Linked DNA regions of Homo sapiens: all the other regions are linked to region 5. The links are contacts of gene promoters, found by promoter capture Hi-C in human tissues and cell types (Jung and others, 2019). All regions are on one chromosome and are shown on one strand. Each heading gives the region's core, a stretch centred on a gene start or on the middle of the fragment in contact. The rest is flanking DNA. Distances are from core to core; before and after follow the strand shown.

What was found. Contacts are between HindIII fragments. The study calls those that stand out against the background at their distance.
Region 1: a fragment that was not itself captured here is called in contact with the fragment with the promoter of GDF6 in region 5 in 2 of the 25 tissues and cell types used here (lymphoblastoid cells and mesenchymal stem cells).
Region 2: a contact is called between a fragment that was not itself captured here and the fragment with the promoter of GDF6 in region 5, in 2 of the 25 tissues and cell types used here (IMR-90 fibroblasts and mesenchymal stem cells).
Region 3: a fragment that was not itself captured here is called in contact with the fragment with the promoter of GDF6 in region 5 in 1 of the 25 tissues and cell types used here (IMR-90 fibroblasts).
Region 4: a contact is called between a fragment that was not itself captured here and the fragment with the promoter of GDF6 in region 5, in 4 of the 25 tissues and cell types used here (aorta, dorsolateral prefrontal cortex, lymphoblastoid cells and 1 more).

Annotation. Positions count from the first base shown.
Region 1 is chr8:95,957,482-95,961,435 of GRCh38, reverse strand. No RefSeq gene overlaps it. Among named protein-coding and RNA genes, the nearest start is that of GDF6, 200 kb to the left of the region's middle. The HindIII fragment of the contact is 5,589 bases long and covers 1-3,954 here.
Region 2 is chr8:95,981,641-95,985,716 of GRCh38, reverse strand. No RefSeq gene overlaps it. Among named protein-coding and RNA genes, the nearest start is that of GDF6, 180 kb to the left of the region's middle. The HindIII fragment of the contact is 8,089 bases long and covers 1-4,076 here.
Region 3 is chr8:96,005,239-96,009,319 of GRCh38, reverse strand. All of the region lies in intron 1 of LOC124901983 (a long non-coding RNA gene), which reads right to left. Among named protein-coding and RNA genes, the nearest start is that of GDF6, 150 kb to the left of the region's middle. The HindIII fragment of the contact is 9,341 bases long and covers 1-4,081 here.
Region 4 is chr8:95,922,565-95,926,824 of GRCh38, reverse strand. No RefSeq gene overlaps it. Among named protein-coding and RNA genes, the nearest start is that of GDF6, 240 kb to the left of the region's middle. The HindIII fragment of the contact is 5,171 bases long and covers 1-4,025 here.
Region 5 is chr8:96,158,410-96,162,870 of GRCh38, reverse strand. It overlaps GDF6 (growth differentiation factor 6), which reads left to right and starts at 2,065. Exons shown (of 2, transcript NM_001001557.4): 1 at 2,065-2,584. The coding sequence starts at 2,179. The HindIII fragment of the contact is 22,921 bases long and covers 1-4,461 here.

The DNA.
Region 1 (3,954 bases), core at 746-3,245, 200 kb after region 5:
AGTGGAGGGTGGGGGTCATACCATGCTCACATGGAGTTCCACGTGTTAACTATTGTGGATTGAGGAGGGACTGAGAGGAAAATGCCATAGGTGTCATCTGCATAGTTCAGCACTATTCAGAGAAATGCCTTTTGCACACTTGTTTTCCTTACAACTTTGCTGATTATAGAAAAATAATATGTTGCTTCAACTTAGCGTAGAATGGAACCTACGTTTGTGTTTGTGTCTGGGGGATATTTTTGGCTCTGGGAGGTTAGGCGCGAACTCTCCCCAGAGTGAGCTCTGATGGCATTAAATATTGGCCTTTGTAAGAACCAAATACAAATGGATGCTAGCCAACATCATAGTTTGAAAAGTATTGTGTTTCTTCTAATTAAAGGCTCTTAGGCAGCAGCTGGGCTAAGGAAATGCTTGAATCAAAGATCAGCATCTTACAGCATGCTGATTTTCAGTGAACTGTGAGCTGGGATTCATTGCCACACACCTCTTCCTGCCACTTGAGGCATTCTCAAAATACTCCATTCCCCTTATGACTCTATAAAAAAAAAGATTGATATATTGATATAAACATTTGAAAGCTTCTCATCCCTAACTTATAGATTATCAGGATGACTGGTTAATAATTCCCTACTGGCTTTATTATGAAAATCACTGAAAAAAATGCAAGATTTCAATAACATCAACAGGAGTACCAGTCAAGGGTTTTGTAATCTGTAGAGACAATTTGCATCAACCCAGTCACGTATAGAATCCTAAAAGATATAGCAAGATTAGGAAGAAATGCAGCTGGGGTTGTCCAACACCTCCATTGTTTACATACAGTAATAAAATCACACATCTGAGGAGGAGATAGACAATCAGAGCACATGAACCAACAAGGGAAAAAAAATCAACAAACGGCTTGTGAAAATATTAGGAAATATAAGAAAGAACAAAGAGCTCATGTAAGATACCAAGGAAAACTTGTGTTAGAAAAAAGTTAACTGAAAGAATACAAAATAAATCTTTGAAAGCATCTGTTTTGTGTTCTCGATAAAATTCTCAAAACATGTCCTTTATCAAATAAGAGGAAAGAGAAGGTGATGAGACAATAGACTAAGATTAAAAGTAAGTTGTTTAGGGAGTAGGAAGAGATTAAAAAGGCTCAATGAGGCAAACAAAGAAAGGTAACGAAAAAATGTAAATGCTTCATACCTTTTGTTTGTTTGTTTGTTTTTGAGACAGGGTCTCACTCTCTGTTACTTAAGCTGGAGTACAGTAGCGCAATCACAATTCACAGCAGCCTCAACCTCCTGGGCTTAGCAATCCTCCCACCTCAGGCTCCCCGCACCCGCTGAATAGCTGGGACTACGGGTGCGTGACACCACACCTGGCTAATTTTTCATGTTTTTTGTAGAGACGGTATCACTATGTTGCCCAGGCTGCACTCGAATTCCTGGGCTCAAGTGATCCTCCCACCTTGGCCTCCCAAAGTGCTGGGATTACAGGTGTGAGCCACTGCGCCTGGCTGCTTCATACCTTTTAAAGTTGAGATCATAAGTTTAAATAGTTGCAAAGGATCTTTCTAGTGTATTATGAACATTAATATTTCAAGACAAAAATATATGATCACTACTTAAAATGTGTCCAGTGTAATCTAAATACTTTAATTATTTTTATAATGACCATTATCTACTTTAAAAAGTACATGAACAAGCTCGTCTTTAACAGTTGAAAATTTAAAATAGTTTTTCAGATTTTCAGTTTGATTTTCCTTTCCCTGTAGGGTATATTTTAAGCATGGATTTTTAAAATATTGATTATCGTATTTTCAACAGCAGAAATATGATATACATTTAAATTTAAAATTGATACATTTAAAAATTTAAACTTGAAAAAGTTTTCTGTGACAAAACTTGAGATCTTCCCTCTTAGAAGATTTCAAGTATACAGTATATTATTATTAACTACAGTCACCATGTTATACATTATATCTCCAGTAATTATTCATCTTAGAGCTGAAGATTTGTACCCTTTGACCATTATCTCCTCTTTTCCCCATGCCAAAGCTCCCAAATTATGTGAAGTGATGAATATGTTAATTAGTTTTACTGGGGTAATCATTTCACAATACATACATATGTTAAAAACATGTTGTACACCCTAAATATATGTAATTTTTGCTAGTTATACCTCAATAAAGATAGAAAATATTTTTTCTGTAACCATAGGCTCTAAGTGTTAAATAATTTTTTTCTAGTTTGAGATATAATTACAATTGTTATCAACTGATTAAACTGATGTAGCTACATCACCTTTTTTTTTTTTTTTTTGAGACAGGGTCTTGCTCTGACCCAAGCTGGAGTAAAGTGGCACAATCAAGGCTCACTGTAGCATTGACCTGGACTCAAGTGATCCCACCACTTCATCCTCCCGAGTAGCTGGGACTACAGGTGTACACACTTGGCTAATTTTCATGGTTTTAGTAGAGATGGGGTTTTGCTGTGTTTCCCAGGCTTGTCTCAAACTCCTGAGCTCAAGTGATCCACCCACCTCGTCCTCCCAAAGTGCTGGGATTATAGGCATGAGCCACTGCACCTGGCTATCACACATTTTGATAAATAATTGTTAACCATAAGAAGTATGATTTTTATTGGAAATGCTGTTCTTAATGAGATGTTTAGGTCTGTTTATCTTTTGGTCAGTTCACATGATCCTGAGCGAATATTACTATTAGAATGAAACATGATCTCGCATCCACTCTATTCTTATTTTTTATTTTTATGAATGAAAATGCAATGATATTTTGTTTACATAAATAGGACTAGAAAGATTTGTATTATAGCTATTATATATTCTTTGAATTGTTTATGATTTATATACCAAAATTCACATAGCTACCAAACATCAAAAATTATTTTAATTATCTAACAGCTAATAAATCTATAAAGTCTTATTATAATTTTGTTGAAAGGAAAGGATTAGAAGCCACGTCATGTAATAATGTGTGCTAGCCAGTCATTCGAGTCCTTCATTTTTATCAACATCTGTTCCAATATTCCAAATGATTCCTTTGTTTGGTGCCCTGGAAGTTTTTAAACCCTGGGCCAATGCACCTGTTGTTATGTAAGAAACCATCCCCAGACTCAGAGGCAAACAACCATTTTGTTTTATTTACAGATTCTGTGGTTAAGAATTGGTCAGGTTGTAGTGAGGATGCTTATCTCCTCTCCTTGATGTGTGGGGACTCAGCTGAGAAAAATCAAAGGCTTGTGTGACCCTAAGCTGGGGACCAGAATTATCTAGACGCTTCTTATCTTAGTCTATTTGTGCTGCTATAACAAAACACCACAGACTGGGTATGAAGCACAGAAATTTATTTCTCATGGTCGTAGAGGCTGGAAAGTCTAAGATCAAGGTGCCAGCAGATTGTATGTCTTGTGGGGGCCTTCTTTCTGTGTCCTCACATGGTGAAAGCATAGAAGATAGCAAACTCACTCCCTCTCACCCTTTTATAGGAGCCCTAATCCAATCTATGAGGGCTCAGCCCTTATGACTTAATCACCTCTTAAGGTTTCACCTCTTAATACTACTACATTGTTGATTAAATTTTAACATATGAATTTTGAAGGGGACACTATCATTCAAATGCCCTGTATCTGGACTGAAATTACTTGAAGTCTGGACTTAGCTGAAACTGTCCGTCCAAAGGCCCACACATAACCTTTCCATGTGGCTTGAGCTACACCACTGCAGCCTTGGTATAGTCAGACTTCGTAGGGGGTTCAGAGCTCCAGTACAAGTTTTCCAGTAAGCAAAACAGAAACTGCATTGCCTTTTATGACTTACTCTTGGAAGTCATTTAGCATCTCTTCTACTGTACTCTATTGGTTAAAACAGCTATAATCTAGCCCAAATCTAAGGGGACTCCACTTTTTGATGGAAGAAATGTCAAAGGCCTAGCAGCCACTTTTT
Region 2 (4,076 bases), core at 1,131-3,630, 180 kb after region 5:
ATGCATGGATTGTCATGCTTTGTAGGGGCACAAGAGGGAAAGAATGAATAATTCAATGTAAGAAAGGAAGGGAAGCAGCTGCTTGTCCTCCCAAAATAAGAAAATAAAGATCATTTACCTTAAACTAATCAGAAATTCAGCCCAACTAGACTGATATTGAATTAACTTAAAGTGAAACCACATTTCTTTCTTTGCCCGAACCCATTCTTATGTTAACCTGCAAGTGTTTTGGCTGGGATCCCAGTGGATTCGTATGAAGAATGTATTTTTTCTAATTTAAGTTTGCCCTCTTGATGCTGTAGAGTGATACTGCCTTGGAAGTAGCTATAAACCCAGGACAAATTTGTAAAATTTGCAGCTAGTATGAACAATTGATGTTGCCATTTCTCATGAGATCATCTCTTCCAGTTGGTGTAGAGTAGTTTCATTTTGAAAGAAATATGTAAATGTCTGTATTTTGAAAATATGTTTTATGCTACATTATAGCATAATTTTTGTTGAGTTTTTTTTTGTACATGGACTATAATATGAATCTTTTTCTCAAAGAAAAGACTACAGTTTTGTAACAGAGCTTACTTTTGAAATCAAAATCCTTAGATTAAAAAAAATCATAATGCATATATCTAAGCCTATAAAAATGCATGATTCTGTGCACATAATGATGCAGTAAGAATTCAGAGTTCTCAAATTTGAAGTTTGTGGAGTTGGGCAAACCTCAGGAAGAAGGGTTCATGTTTTTTGGGTAATCCTTGCCACAAAGAATCCCACTGCTGTGAAGAGTGAAAATGAAAACCATTCAAGAAAAGAAACCCAGTATACATTTCTGCTTGCCATTCTGCTTCTGACAGAGACAAGGAAAGAACTGAAAATCTGTCTTATACTGAGTTTCATATGAAAATGCCTAGCAATTGGAGGCCTATGCAAAATGGATCGAAAGCAGGTCACAAGTGAATTGAAAAGACCCTCAAAGGGCATATTGCTTAGAACCGATAGGGAGCCACTATATGGAACCGTATGATTAACTTCAGGAAACAGAAGTCTGAAATGAATTTCATTCTCTTTAGTGATGTTCTGGGTTGTGGGAAAGCCTTTGAAACAGCATAGATCTTCCAAGAAGACCTGGCTTCTGAGATGGCACAGGTGGAATCCTCTTCCTGTAGATATTTTGGACTACCTGGCTCTCTCATGCTTAGGAACTCCAGGATGCTAGCAGCTTTCCTCCGAGGTGGGAGGCTCCCCTGGAGGCCATCTGTACCTGAGGACCGACCCCTTGCAAGGGCTCTGTTTGCTGACTCAGTGAGATCTGGCCATCTGCACTCCCTGCTAGGCAGATGTTCCTTTCAGGATTCAGTTCATGCGGCAGATGAAGATGCAGAATGCATATGTGAGCACACATGGAATTCCTCATTCTCCAGTTCTGGGGAAGCCCTTCAGAGAACTGGAGCCTGTCTCTCAAGTCCCACCAGCAGATGCCCCTGCTGTGTGTGAAGGCCAGAAGCATCTTACAGGCTTGTGTCTGTGGCCAACTTGGGTCTTGATCTAATTTGACCCTCTCATTAGTTCTTGATGAGGGAGTCAATGCTTTGCACTGGGCATGTTGTTCTGCTTTTAAAGATATTTTCCTAAATAAGGCCAAGGAAAAACAAGACATATTTGGAAGTTATTTTTAAATACATCTCACTGAAAAAGACATCGTTTCCTTCATTTTCAAGTGACCACATATGCAGTCTCTTCCGTAAGTTTTGCCACAAAATGTTCTCAACAAAATAACTCTGTGCAGACTTAGTTTTAAGCAGAATTTCTGCTAGCTTCTTGCTTTGTGACCCTGGGTAAGTCTAAAATGTAAGTCTGGTTATAGGGTTCCTCTACATAACCCTGGTCCTGCCTCCTGATTCCCCACAGTCCGCTGCATGGCTACCAAGGCCCTTTGTGATTGAGTCCCCCTCCCCTCCATTCCCTCTCCCTGGCAGTCTTGGTCATACCTGCCTCAGGCCATTCCTGCAGCTGGCTGTGTTCACTCTTGCTCCTTGGTCATGCACACACTGTTGCCTGCAGATGAGCTGCTCTTTCTCCTTCCTTCCCCTCATTATATTCAGCATACTACTACCAATTCTCTAGGTCTTTGCTTAGATATTGTCCCTTTCTGATCCCTCTGGTGTGGGTTCAGTGCCCTTTGTATGTTCTCGTACTGCATCCGATAACCCCATGGTAGCTCTTCATTCTTCTGTATTATAATTGCCTGTTTTCTTGAACATTATTCTCCCTCTAAAGCCCCTCTAAAATAGACTTTAAGCTCCTAAGAACTAACTATAGACTAGACTACCAATAAGCGTGGGGCTTACTGATCTGACTGTACCATTGGAGCTGGGCTTTGCAGCTGGGCCAGATTCCTCTGGGTCTATACCAGTGTGACAGTCATCAGGGCTGGTCTAGTGTTCGGGCTGTTTCCTTCCAGGCCAATGATGGGATTGTATCTCCCTGTCCACTAGATGTTAGGTATGGCTGTGCTGTATGATTTCCTTTGATCGATGGGAGGTGAGCAGAAGTATGGGGCCTTCAGAGCTAGTTTGTGTTTCCACACATCTCCTTTGCCTCTCTGATTGGCAGTGTTCCAGATAAGTGTACTCCATTAGCTAGGGCCTTGAAGTGAGCATGATCATGATGTGGAGCAAAGTCCCTAGCCAGCTGTTAAAGGATGTGTAATCTAAACAAAAGATGAATCTCTGTTGTTTTCAGCTACTGAGAATTTGGAGTTATTTATTACTGAAGCATCACCTACACTATACTGATTGAAAAACTAAGATGATGGATAGATTTTTTCTGTGATGTCAACTCTTGATTGCCAATGGCTACTTAGAGCATTGAACTGTGAAGTGTATGTTTGGGTTCAGTGGGAAAGGATGCTGTGATTTATTAATGTCTCTATTAGCATAACATGGGAAATCAGAGCCTACTTGCCTATCTTGATTTATTCTGTGCTAATGATGAGTATATTTCATACCAGGTGTCTTCTCTTTTCCTGATGACCTATCTGCTTGACTCCTTGTTGCCTCTGCTATATGCATCAGCGTAACTAGTGTTAGAATTTCAACATAGCATGAAACTGAGTAAGTAATTCCCTAGCGGTCATAGGGTAAGTTAAGGAACTGAGACTAGTACACTGACTTCCAATCAAATATCCTTTCCCAACTGGATTGTTGTTTATTAACAGGTAAGCATATGAGATTCTCTACTTGAAAAAATGTTTTTTTCCTGAAAAAAATATAAAGTGGTGATTTAATTCTGTCTTTTGTCTATATTTCTAATAATTTACTAGCCATCGTAACGTTCTTTTCTAGTTTATTTTTATTACACAATGATGACACTTTTGGGTAATTAAGTCATTTTTCAGTACTTTAATTCATATGAGACTATAACTATGAATAAAAATATTTATTTTTAAAATAAAATTTATACATTGCCCCCTTCATTTGACATTTATACACTTAGACAATTATAACATTTCTTTGGCTAACATTTCCTAGGTGTGTCCATGCTGGGCAGTATTGAGTCATTCAGTGATCACTACTTGATGCTTGGTGCTCTGTTTGTTCTTCCTCAGTTTTTTGGCTGGCACTTCCCTCTTCCCACTTCTCAAATCATCCTCTGAATCCAATCATCAAGCACACCCTACTATTCCTGTCCTCTTAATTTCTTCCAGCACTGTTCCACCTTCTCCATCTCCATCTTTGCTGCCAAACAACAGTGCCAGTGTAAGCTTTCTCATCTCTGGCCCACACTGTTGAGGGAATATCCTCACTGGACTCCTTGCTTCATGACCTATCCCTTAGGTAACTGTTGTTTATTGAGTCCTTACATTGTGCAAAGCATCAAGCCAAAGATTACATATATTGTCTCTCTTAATCCTTACAATAACCGTATTGTTTTCAGGCCTCACAGAACCTGGATCCCTCCTGTCGTACCTCAGTCAGAATTTGCTTAGAGTAGATCATATGACTCCAAGCATCTGTAGAAACTATAAGTAGGGGGAAAAAGGCCAAGAGTGAGGGTCCTCATTTATCTTATCTCTCAACAAG
Region 3 (4,081 bases), core at 733-3,232, 150 kb after region 5:
AGTTTGAGGAGAACCGAGGTTCTCAGCGATCCATAACAATTGTCACATTTGATCTTTTGGTCCAGACTGTGACCATAGCATGTATTTAGGAGATACTGGCTGGTGGCTGGTATGGAGATGGGGTTTAGGGAACCCACAGGTCATGCCTATAGTATAAATTAAGTAGTCTCAGTACACAGATTGAACATGAAGTCATGACGTTGGCCTCATTAGCATTCCATCTAGTGCCATTTGCAGAGTGGCTGATGCTTTTCCTAATCTTATCTTAGACACAGCTGTGCCCATGGTTCACAGAACCAGTAACTCACTTTCTACACTAAACAACCAACCAATTAATCAACTGTACACATGAACACACACACACACACACACACAGACACACACACACACACACACAGAAGCAGGGAGGGAGAGAGAAGGAGAATTTATTAATGCCAGCACTGTTTCCTAATTCTGCCTTACTACAAGATCACACTGCACAGGAATGCCACTTTGGCCAGTAAAACCCTTAAATATCCTTTTCTGAGTGTGAGCTTGCTTTATATAATAATAATGGCTAAAAATCAAATCCCTCTACATTAAAAAGTGAGAAAGAGCCTCACAATTCCAACTATGACATGTACTGAGACCTTGAGTGTAGAGGTTCCCAACTGTTTCTGCCATAACATGAGTGATGGATGATGTTCACATGCAGGACGCATTCCCATTGCATCCCTATGCACTATCCTAGGGGTCCTTGAAGTAACATGAACCCTTTCGCTCCAACTCAGTAAAGCATATCAGAGAATGTGGTGGTTTCAAGTGGCATTATTATAGGGCTTACCTTGAAGCTACCACTAAGTTTTACTTAAAAGTGAATTATTCACAAACTTTAGTACTTTAACTATTATTAACTACAGATCAATTGCAACATATCCCACAACATTCAAGTAGACTCAGACCTCTTGTACTTCCAGAATAAAGTTTATTTTCCTTATTTAACCCAGTGTCTGTTTACTAAGTTAGGAGATAGTGTTGAGCTTGATTTTGAGAAATCATTTTTTTCCACACTCAACTTGTAAGCCCAAATATTTCATGTCACTCCACAAATGTAACTTTGTGTTAAATTTTCTATGTGGCTCACAACTTAATAAAAATAATGAAGAAATAGGTTAATCTGAGTCTATAAAAATAAGATTTATTAAAGAAAACTGGATTGGAAGAAGCAATTGATTTCATCATGGTGAATATTGTCAGAAGTAGCAGAATGCTGAATAACTAAGGTTTCAATGAACTTTTTTAAAAGCAAGTTTTGGGTTTGATAGAGTTTAGATGTAGATGGCCCTATCTAGCTCTTGTGGAACAGGTAGAAAAAACATTCATCATTTGACATGCCAACTCTTGTCTGGGCTGTGAGGGCAGCCTTAGGTGGCCCAGGTCTTTTTTTGTGGCTTCCAGTTTGGGAGAAGCTCTTGGTGGATTGGCATGATGCCAGTATCCAACACAGCTGAAGTAATAGCAACGATTTCTCTCACTTGTCCATGCTGAGAGTGGACTTGACCTAGTGGTCTCCTGTATACCCTCTTCCCAACTGAGAATAAAGCTGCCTGAAGTGAAGAATGCTGGGAGAACTCCCAGAACTTGAGTTCTTCCTCCTGTTTTTGAGAAGCCTTGCTTCTCATTTTTCTGCTCCTGGTTGACAGGTGGATAAAACCCAGCACAGCGGAAGTCATAGGAGGAATTCAATTCAGTCTCACACTAAGTCAGCCAGTTGATCTGACTACAGAGAAGTGAAGCCTACCCCTAGTCTGAGTTAATGTCACGAAATATGTTTAATCACCACCAGTCAGTGCACACACACATACACTCATAAACAAACACACTCACACTCATACATCATAGCAATAACAGCTCAATCAAGTCAGCACTGTGGACGAGTGGAGACATTTTGCCAAGCCCATAGTGGACTGACGCACCAAGGGATTTGGAATTTGGACCCTCCCACTACACCCCTTCAATCCTGGGGAGTGGAGCATGTAATCTCTTGGCTAAACAAGGCTTCTTAATATTCAGGGAAGAAAGGTTCAACATGGTATTATACACCAATGCAGAGCCTGTGGGACACGATAGCCTTGAGAAGAGGAGATTTGGTCAGTTACGTGTAAATGAATCAGAAACAGATGGATGATATTTTTGTTAAAATACACACGGGTTTTTAAATTAAGAGGGTGAAGAAGAGTTGCAGAGACAGCTTTGGCAAAAATGTCTTGTGCTCTGCCGGGCCCTAAGGAAATGTTCAGTGAACCTAGAGTACAGCCAAGGTCAATGTTCTATCATTAATGGATAGCATACAGCCCATGACCACACACAGGCCAGGAAATAGGAAGAATCCTAATATATATTGGCATTTATCAGCAAGATTTTCAGTTTGTGATAAAAATAAAAAGGCTCATATTATGTCATGGAACGGCATGACACGCATTCCATAAGCCAGCGGTTGACTTGGTCTTGGAATGTGAAAAAGAGGAAGGTATTTTCTATATCTCACCCCCTTCCTCTGTCACAAGTTTTCACATGGTATTAAGAAGCAATGCGTCCAGATTCTAATTTGCTCTTCTTTTTATTCTTTTGCTGCATTTCTTTACTAATTGAAAACGGACAGCAAAGATACCCCCAACCACAAATATCTAGAAGAAAATGGAGACATTTGGACAGACTGAAAAAGTTTTATGAGCTCTAATAAGGCTAATCAAGGCTCTGGAAAGAATTTTGTTTCATGGTGGACTCAACAAAACAATGAACTGGGTCCTTCAAACAATGAGCTGATTGGCCACAGCAGGAGGCCTGGGGGCCAGGGCCCTGATGAACTGCTGGTCAATTTGGGTGTTGCAACCGCTTTCCATGGTGACGCAACCGCGGTGGAACTTAGGCACCATCTGTTGCTTGTCCTTCAGGCTGCTGTCAATCCTCCATCCCTGCAAGTCCTAAATAAGCCTCCCCTGAAGTTCTCAAAGTGGAATCTAGCCCTCAGTTAATTTGTTTTCTGAGCAGTTCACTCTACAGTGGAGGCATGTTCCCCACCTCATTTCTTTATGTCAGTGTTACACAGTCCAGGCTGAGGAGTGAGGTGGGTGAGTGAAGAGCACACAGGAAGGGCTACTCTGTAGGGATAGCAAAGGAGAAAGTAGAGTTGATAGACAAAGGGGCAGTTCCCTCTGGGTTAGTGCCAACGTCAAATTCCTCTGTGCTGGGAAGAAGGGGAGTGCAATCCCTTTCCCTCACCCATCCTTCATCCCCTCAAGTGATCTCCTAGGGAATAAGAAGGTTCTACCAGCCAGTAGGTTCTGAGGACTGGCTGAGCCTGGAGGCCTCCTTTCTAAAGACAAAGCTGCTCTGAAGTGGGTGGGCTTTACCTTTGCCTGGGCAGATGCCACTGCTGTGGTGCCTCCACAGAGCCCTGGGAGGAGCTGAATTCCACCTTCAATTCCCCTCACCTCCTTTCCTAACCTGCTTCCTCTTTTTTTCCCAAGTTGCTTCCATGAGTTTTTCCTTCCCCTGACAAGCTACAGATTTCCCCAACTTCTCAGGGGCAAATATAAACTCCTCAGGCACGGGGACTCTATCTGATCTAGTTTTATAACCTTAGTTTCAGCACAATGCCTAGCACATAGTGGGCCTACCACAAATATTTGGAAACTTCTAAGACCTCGGATCTCCCAGCACCTGAAGCTTGGTGCATCAGCTGTGATGGGGGCATGAAAGCCCATCTACCTTCTCCTTCCCTTCATCCTCCTGCAGGTGTGTGTTTTCATATGCTATCACTCTTGTGTATGGCAGACCCACACACAACGGCATTTTCTAAGTCGGTTCCTCCTTACACTCTCAACACCACAAGTGTGTGAACTTGAAACATCAAAATTTAGCTGTGCCATGTCCCGTTCCTTCTATTCTGGAAAAGCAAAAAATTTAAAATCCCTTCCTGCTAATGTGGCCTGACTGCTAATGGATTACTTAGATAACATATTTCTGTTACAGATAATGCCCTAATTGAAGGAATGACTCCAGTGGAGGGAACTCCAGGCACCACATTTGTATGTCCGGG
Region 4 (4,260 bases), core at 191-2,690, 240 kb after region 5:
TATAGCTTTATTGTCATACACTTGTTCCTGACTATGAGATCTTTCAACATCCACTCAGTGAGTACCTACTACATGCCAGGTACTTTACACAGATGAAACCAATATGATCCCTGCCTTTAGAAAATAGAAATTTATTGCGATGCTAATAGTTTTTACCTGTGGGTGTTAGAATTATGGATGAGATTTATTTTCCCAACTATATTTTTCTGCATTTATTAAGATTTCTGCAGTGACTATGTAAGACTTTTATAATCAGAATGCAAAAACTAAAATAAACTAGGGTACACAAATTTAGTCTTATGACACATGCAAGAAGATAGACAATAGTAATAGTAATTTTGAGAGCTTCCTATATAACAAATACTGTGCTGAGCATTTTATATAAACTATTTTATTTAATTCTCATAATGTTATCAAATTAGTACTTTTTAAAATCTCATTTTCCAGATAGTAACACCAAGGCCAAAAGAGAGTAAACCCCAGACTACATAGCTGTAAATGGAACAACTACCATGGAAACAACTTAATCAGACAACAATTTAATCAGACAACAATTTAATCAGACAAATAAAAGCAAAGTGAAGATTAAACACATCTGTTTTGGCCCTGGGAACTCTCTTCATTATGTAATCTTGTAGCTATATACAACCAAGTGGCTTTATACACCTGTACATATTTGGTGGTATATGGTGTTATTTTTGGAAGAGTTTGTTTCCTTTCGATAGAGAGCAACTTAAGGCCAAGAATCGTATCTGCCTCAGTATTTTATGTATTTATTTATTCTTTGGTTTGTGGTAGAGGCTTACCTGTCTGAGTAACACTTAAAAAATCTTGTTGACTGCCTGGCATAGTAGGTGTGTAGTCACAAAGTTCTCCTGCTTTGCTGAGGGAGACTGTGGATTCTGATATGACCCTTAGCTGGGCTCAGTTTCTTAGCTTCACCATGGGACCTCAAATAAATATTATTGTTTTTCATAATAATATTTATTAAGCATCTACATAGTTTCTAGCACCAAAAAAAGGATTTCAAAGGGGGAAATGCATTGTATACACAGTGTTTAGGTAGCTGTGAGGGATCATCCAGCTACTCCCAGGACTGCTCTGAGTCTAGATGTTGTGCAGACTGTAAAGTGCTTTAAGCTTCCCTGGAGAAAACAACTATGTCAGTTCCACAGAATCTTGATTTTATTTTCTGTGATTAGGTGACCCATGTGATAAGCTGCATATTTTTCTCTTGTTGAGAATTTGTCTAAGAACAAACTCCAGTTGGATTCAAAAGAATGGTTGACCTATTTTATGAGGTTATTTAAATATGGAATTCTAGGGTGAATAGTTAGTAAACATTGGACTGCCCTCTGATCATCTAGTTTTACAGTAATTATTTATTGAGCATGCTCTTCATACAAGGCATTATGGTTGGTGCTTCAGATAATGCAAAGATGATGAAGATGTGATCTCTGACCTCGGCAGTTATAACCCCTAATGACACAAATACAGATAACTGGAAAACAAAGCAAGAAGTAGTAAAGTAACACATGAAGGCTGAGGGCCCATGCCACATGGAAACCTACTACATGGGAGGTCATTGGCGGCATTGCCAGAGTGTTTGAGCACTCATATTGTACCCAGACACCAATATAAGAGCTTTATATGAATTATTTCAAGCTAATTCTCAAAGAACTCTGAGTGCTGATGTAACACACCCTTCTCTGCCTGAGATTTTAACCACTAGAGAAATAAAAAGAGTAATAAACAAGGACCCTTATTACTGATAAAGGCTATGTTAGTGGATGTAGCTTAGGATCATAAACAGTCTTTCTAATTTACTATCTAGACCTTGGAAAAACCTATCGGAAGGAAAGTTTGAATCTGCAGAGCAAACACTGTTAGCCAGGTTATTGCCTCCCCTGGAACGGAGAGAAGGAGAAAGAGAGAAAATTTCCTGTGTTTAGACCTTTGGGAGATGAGCTCCACTGGTGAAGAATTGTGGAATGATAGCTGTGGCTACTGACTGGGTGTCACTGGCCAGGTATTTCACACCATCTCCATGGGGAGGAGGAGAAGGGAGGCCAGGAATGACTAGAGAAATCCCTTTTCATTGAAATAAAAGGGGGGAAATGGGCTTTTCCCTCCATGGTTCCCCAGGTTTTAATTCCCTTTATCCATTGAGTTTGCCTATTGAGTGTATGATTAAGATAGGAGTGTGGCTTTCCCTTTGAGAGAGGAGTCAGGTAGTTGATCAAGTTAGTCCTTCTTACCCATGAGAGGCCACACCCTTCCTTTGAGGGACATCTAGAAAGCAGTGAGGATTTTTACCTCAGAAAGCTCTGAGATGAGTCAGAACAGAGCATTACGAAAATACACTTTGATGCCACATTGTCCTTAAGGCCAAAAACATATTACCTATTCCAATCCCAACTTATATCCAGCCATGTGTAAAATATAGACAATTAGAGATTCTGCCACAGGATAAGTGAAACATTAAGACGCTTCAATATTAAAATGCATAAATACACGTTAGTAATAAAATGCCAGTACAATAGAAGCATTCTAAGCTTGAATTTTAAAAGCTCTTATTATCAATTGGCCTGGAAATAATGAAGGCCCTCAAATTAATTCTTTTTTCAAGGTAAAGACCCCAAACTTTCAAGTCTAATGGAATTAAGAGCAACATCAAATGATCTTGCCCTGATTAGTTAAAAGCAATTTAAGTCTAAAACTCACCCTTGTCTGATTTTTTATTCTGCTGTCGAGGGGCTCTTCTTTGCAGAGTGGACAGGGGCAGCTGGAATTCTTTCAGCAGATGCCGCCTGGGCTGAGTATCTCTCCCTGCAGTGGGCAGAGTTCCTTTAGGACCTATGAATCTGACCCAGTTCAATGCCAATTCTGTAAATTGCTCTCCTATGAAAAGAATTCAAAGACAGGCAAGTTAATCACAGTAGGGGCCTCATACCCACCATATTCAGGAAACAAAGTAATTCCTAGCCCTTATCAGTTATTCCAGGTAGAATTATGTTGCTAGAGCCAAGTACCAATGGCCGTCTAAGAGAAGGAATGTTGCTGGAGAAACAAAAACAAACAAACAAACAAAAAAAACATGGTTTCAGTTCCTTCAGAGGCAGTTAGACTATGTCAGTTGTCCAGAATCCATGATCCATTTCATATAAGGGACTCTCTCCTAAGAGAGCAAGGACTATATGGAGCAAAGGGTCTTTTACCAATGAGCATTGTCTCTTCTCTCAGAGAGTAGCCTTTGAGACATAATGACTCTTTACAAAGTTTAGAAACTAGCCCCAGGCAGCATATCTTATGTGAGGTGTGCTTTGTTTTTGCTTTTGTTGTTGTCTTAAGCAATGTTCCAATCTTTTTGTCTATCAGCTTCCTTTGAGATCCAGTTTCTGGCACCCTAGATCAGCACTATCTACTGAGGTCCATGAGTAGCAACATGGCATCCATTCTCTCCTTTGAGCCACCCTGGCTGCTTCGTGGGGATTTTTTAGATGAAAGGTGTCTCTGTGCCCACATTTGTTCAGCTGGAGAATCATCCTCAGCAGATTCATGAATTGGAGCTGTTGTCCTTGCTCCTGGAGATTATGTCCGTGGGAGGTTGGTGACTCCCAGTACCTCTCTGCCAGGTGCTTCTCAGGGCACTACCCTCCTCTACTTTTTTTAAAAACTCATTTTTAATGGAAAATTTCAAATATATATAAAAGTAGGCAGATTAATATAATACATTCCTCATCTACCGATAACATGGTTTCAATGATTAGTAACTCATGCATCCTTTTGTTTTCCTCGAGGTTTGAATATTTCAGATCTCGAGGAGGCTTTCTTTCTATTGCGTCTTTCTCTGCAACACTGGAGTATGCCTCCAATATTTTCTTCCCATCTGCTGTTTCCCTCTTCCTCTGGCAAAGCTTAGTTGAGGTTCTAACAGCTAATCCTTTTTCTTCTCCAATACATACAGGGCTAGAGCTATGGGCTGGGAGAGAACAGTTTTCTTGCTTTTACTTGTGCTTTGCATTTAGTCCCACACATTTGTTTGTTTTTCTAGTAAAAGTCTTTAGATTTTGTTAGATGGTGTCTCCCATATAGAAAGCTATGGCATGAATCAGTCCCAGGCTTGCTAAAAGCTTTCATTATTAAAAAAATCTTTCAATATATTTGACAAGTATATTTTGAGCATCTACTAAGTGCCAGCATTTTTTTTGCCCTGGATAATTTACAGAGCAAAGAGGCAAATAACCCTGCCCTCAAAGA
Region 5 (4,461 bases), core at 816-3,315:
CCATGAAACCCAAACTAGGGGACATAAGTAGAATTGGGATAGGGCCAGAAGGGGCATCCACGGAGACCAAGGGGAGAGCAGCCAAGCTCAATAGCCCAGTGATTAAGAGCCCAGACTCTGGAGTAGTGTGACCCTGGGCCTCACTTTCCCTATCTGTAAAATAGGAATAATACAGCACTTATTTCAGGATTGCTGTGAAGATTAAGTAAAATAATATTGGCGAAGGGCTTCAAACCATGACTGACACACAAGTTCTCTGTGGGTGCTTGCCATTACCTGGAGGAGGCCAGTGTCCAGGGTGGAGGGCATATCCCAGACCTTAAGGAAGTTAAAGGATGAGGGGAGCAGCGCAGCAAAACTCCCTCCCCCTGCAGGCTGTCATGTGAGTGGTCCCTGCAGGACAGAAGAGGTGATGAAAAAGCAAAAGGAAGAAGGGGTTAGAAAGTGAGAGGGAGGAGATTGGAGAGACTGGGAACACACACAGAAAGTAGCATGGCGGAGAAAGAAGCCACCTGAGATCAAGTGAAACCATAAAGAGAAGAAAAAAGCCAGAACTGAAATAGAGAAGTTGGGCCAGGAATGACTGTCTATGCTGTAGTGGGAAGAATCTTGGGCTTGGGGTGGGAGCCTGGGTTCTGTCCCTTGCTGCATAACCTCTTGGCAGAGTGGCCTTGGAAAAGTCACTTATTTCCATTGAGTCTTTTTTTTTTCCATCCGTGAAGGTGAAAATAGTCAACGCCAACCTCACAAAGCTGTTGGCACGATTAAAGGAGGGTACTTTATGGTTGGTGCCTGAGCACCCAATCAGTACTGAGGGAAACTCTTCTGCCCATAGCAGTCCAGGGCAGAGCACTGTGGCAGACAGAAGCAGCGCTACGCCGCATCGCCTTTCAGCGTGCAGGCCCAGGAATGAGCGAGGCAGTGGGCGGGGAAGACAGGCACGGGGAATCTGGGGACAGATAAAGGAAACTCGTGATGGGGCGAGGCTGGGCTGAAGAGAAACAGATTGGGGTAGAGCTGCAAAGGGAGGGGTCCACTGGAAGGCGAGGGGGGAGGCCGGGAAGAGAGAGGGTGGGAAGGCAGTGTGAGATGGGAGGGCAGTGTGAGAAGAAAAGCAGGCTGGGGAAGAGGGATTGGAATGCAGAAGGAACTTGGGGAAGGAGGAAGTCCTGCAGGCGGGAGGGAAAGAAGAGAGGGAAAATGGGGATGCAGTGGAGGCGGGGGGCAGGCCGCGAGAGGGAGAGGATCCCGGGAGCAGACGAAGAAGTGGAGCAGCTAAAGTCTGCGTCAGAAGAGGTTGGGGACTGCGAGAGGAGAGGCTGGGGCCTGCAGGGGAGCGCAGCAGCTTTTAGCATCGATCCAAACTCTAAAGACTCGTGGCCTTTGCCTGACCTCGAGGGTCGGGAATAGACGCCTGTCTTTGTGGAGAGCGATACCCAACCGAGAAAATGGGGCTGTTCCGAGCTGGGCCCTGCGCCTGGCCCAGGGCGAGGCTTCTCTGGCTCCGGGCTGGCCCCTGAGGGGCGCAAACGGCAGGCCTGGCGGTTGGGGCCGAGGAGGGAGGGTACCACCGCCCCGAGGCAGCACGCAGCCTGCAGCAGAGGCGCCTGCTCCAAGCTGTCTCTTGGGGGCGCCGCCGCCGCTTCCCTCCTCCGGGGCCGCTCGCTCCCAGGAAAGTGGAGGCGGCTGGCGAGGACCGAGAGCCGGGGCCGCGCTGCGGAGGGACCACACCTCCGGGAGTTCGAGGGGGACCCTGGCGCGGCGGGCCAGCCTTTGCTCCCCGGCCACGGGCCGGCAGCGCCCGCCTTCCCCCGGTCAGCGCTTGCGGCCCGCGCCGCGCGCACCGCCCGGCAACCCCGCGCGCGTCCCGCGGGGGCGCTGCGTCTTCCTGCCACACCGGCGCACCGCGGCCCCTCTCCCCCACACCTCCGGCCCGCACCACCCGGCTCTCCTCCCACCCTCCCCACCCCTCCTCTGCCCTCCCTCCCCATTCCTCCCCTCCCGGCGAGGGGCGGGAGGGGGCGTGGCGGGGCCGGGGTTTGTGTGGCTGGGACCCGGCTCCTCGCACTCCGAGTCCGCCCGAGGAGCCGGGCCCCGGCCGCTGTCCAGCCGCTCCGTGCCCCGCGCGTCCTGCGCCGCCGCCACCGCCTCCTGGGGAGACGCAGCCACTTGCCCGCCATGGATACTCCCAGGGTCCTGCTCTCGGCCGTCTTCCTCATCAGTTTTCTGTGGGATTTGCCCGGTTTCCAGCAGGCTTCCATCTCATCCTCCTCGTCGTCCGCCGAGCTGGGTTCCACCAAGGGCATGCGAAGCCGCAAGGAAGGCAAGATGCAGCGGGCGCCGCGCGACAGTGACGCGGGCCGGGAGGGCCAGGAACCACAGCCGCGGCCTCAGGACGAACCCCGGGCTCAGCAGCCCCGGGCGCAGGAGCCGCCAGGCAGGGGTCCGCGCGTGGTGCCCCACGAGTACATGCTGTCAATCTACAGGACTTACTCCATCGCTGAGAAGCTGGGCATCAATGCCAGCTTTTTCCAGTCTTCCAAGTCGGCTAATACGATCACCAGCTTTGTAGACAGGGGACTAGGTAAGTGGCAAAGAAAACGCTCGACTCCCCTCCCGCTGGAGCTCGGCAGCCAGGGAGCTGTTCCCGCTGGAGGCTACATTTGTGAATTCCCTTCCTGCTCTGGACACTTCCTTTTTACTTTTCTTAAATTGTTTTTCTCAAGCTCGAGTAAGTTTCTGAATGTGGCTGCGGATTCTATTCCAGTCTCTAAACCTCCCTTCCTTTCCCCCCCTTTCTTTCTCTCTCCCTTCTTTCCTTCTTCCTCTTTTGCAGAAGGCAGCGTGGTTGCCGCTTGTTGGTGGCTGGTGGGGGAAACGTGGAGGACGGGAGGCAGCAGGCGGATGAACCCGGCTGGAGAGGGGTCGGGATGGGGACTGATGGAATCGGTGTCTCGGGATACTGGGTTCGCAGTCCAAGGCCTGAGCTGCTGGGGCAGATCTAGGGCATGAGACAGCCTTGGAAAGCCCTGGGCAAAGCCGGCACTAGGGAGTCCCACAGTCTGAGGAACTAGTCCGCGAGCGGCGTCGGGCAGCCCCCTGGTCCTGGCGCCGCGCGGGTTTTCCGTTGGTCCCTGCGCTGGGTGGGATGGTCAGCCGGGCTGGAGCCCTGCGCCCTCCGGCTTTTTTGCTCCAGCGTGGTGCTCCCGGCTGCTCCGAGGCCTCAACACGAGTGGTTTCTGCAGATGCGGCGGCAGCAGTTGGGCGGGCCGGGACAGGGACGGCTAAGTTCGGAGGTTGTGGGTACTTAATACACAAAGGTACATGGGTATGCCCATCCACCTTTCTCAGCCAGGCGACGTTCCTCTCTCTACGCTATTCCTGAGGGCTGGTGGGGGTCTGGGAAATCCCTGGTACCCTCTGTGGGAACGCCTGCATGTGTGGGTGTCTGCGGAAACCCTTGCGGCCCCTTCTTGCCACCGGCGTTGATCTGCAGCGTGGCCAGTGCCCTCAAGAAAACCTCGCACCACCTCTGGTCCCAGAAATCAGGGAAGGATCCACAGGCATCGGAAACTAAGCTCCTAAAGGAGAGAGACAATAATGTGGAAGGAGACAGGAAAGGAAGGGAGAAAAAGGAAAGGAAGAGTAAAGAGAAGGAAGGAAGAAAATGACGGGATAAAAGCGATTTAGGCAGATATCCACTCCTCCATCCTCCCTAGACTTAGCTCCATGACTTTGACCTGCTCCCAGTTAAGTGGGGTTGCCCGGAAACCTTGCAGCGCTGGGGTTCGGGATTCGGAAGCTGCTTCAGCCACTGCTACCCTGGGTGCTCGCACATCTCTTAAGCTTTTTAGAGCAGGCTAACGGCCCCCCCGCCCCCAGCCCCGAGCTCTTCCCCGGCTCCAGTCCCCGCCTCTCACTCATAGTCGCGTTCCTTGCTCGAGGGTCTCGCCGCTGCAGCCCGAGGTCAGCGAGGTTCATGAGCTGCTGAAAGGTCCAGAGGGCAAATTAACGCCAGGTATTTTATGATGATTTTAGGGCTACTAAAGTCACCTTTGCAAAGACATGTGGCTTCTTCGTAGTAGTGCAACTGAGTCCCTGGCCTCCGTGCTGCCCGTGCAGCTCGCCAACCCTCCCCACGACGCACGCCTTGCTACAGTTGTTTCTGTCCCTCAAAGTCCTCTGTTAATCGTGCACTTTCTCTACTACAATTGCGGAAGGAGGCTAAGGAAGCTCAGAGAAGACTGCTCAAGAGGCCCTTCCTCAAGAGAAGAAGTCCCAGAGGCCTAGGCTGGCCGGCGGTTGGGCGCGGATTTTCTTTGCCCGGGAATGAAGTGGCAAGAATCTCTGCCCCTCCCCCAAGTGGGCACCATAACTGGTTCGCTGCGCCCTGTGAATTTGGCACAGGACCAAAAGACCCTGCGGGCTGTTCGGAGGTGTCTCCGGAAGCCTGTGGCATTC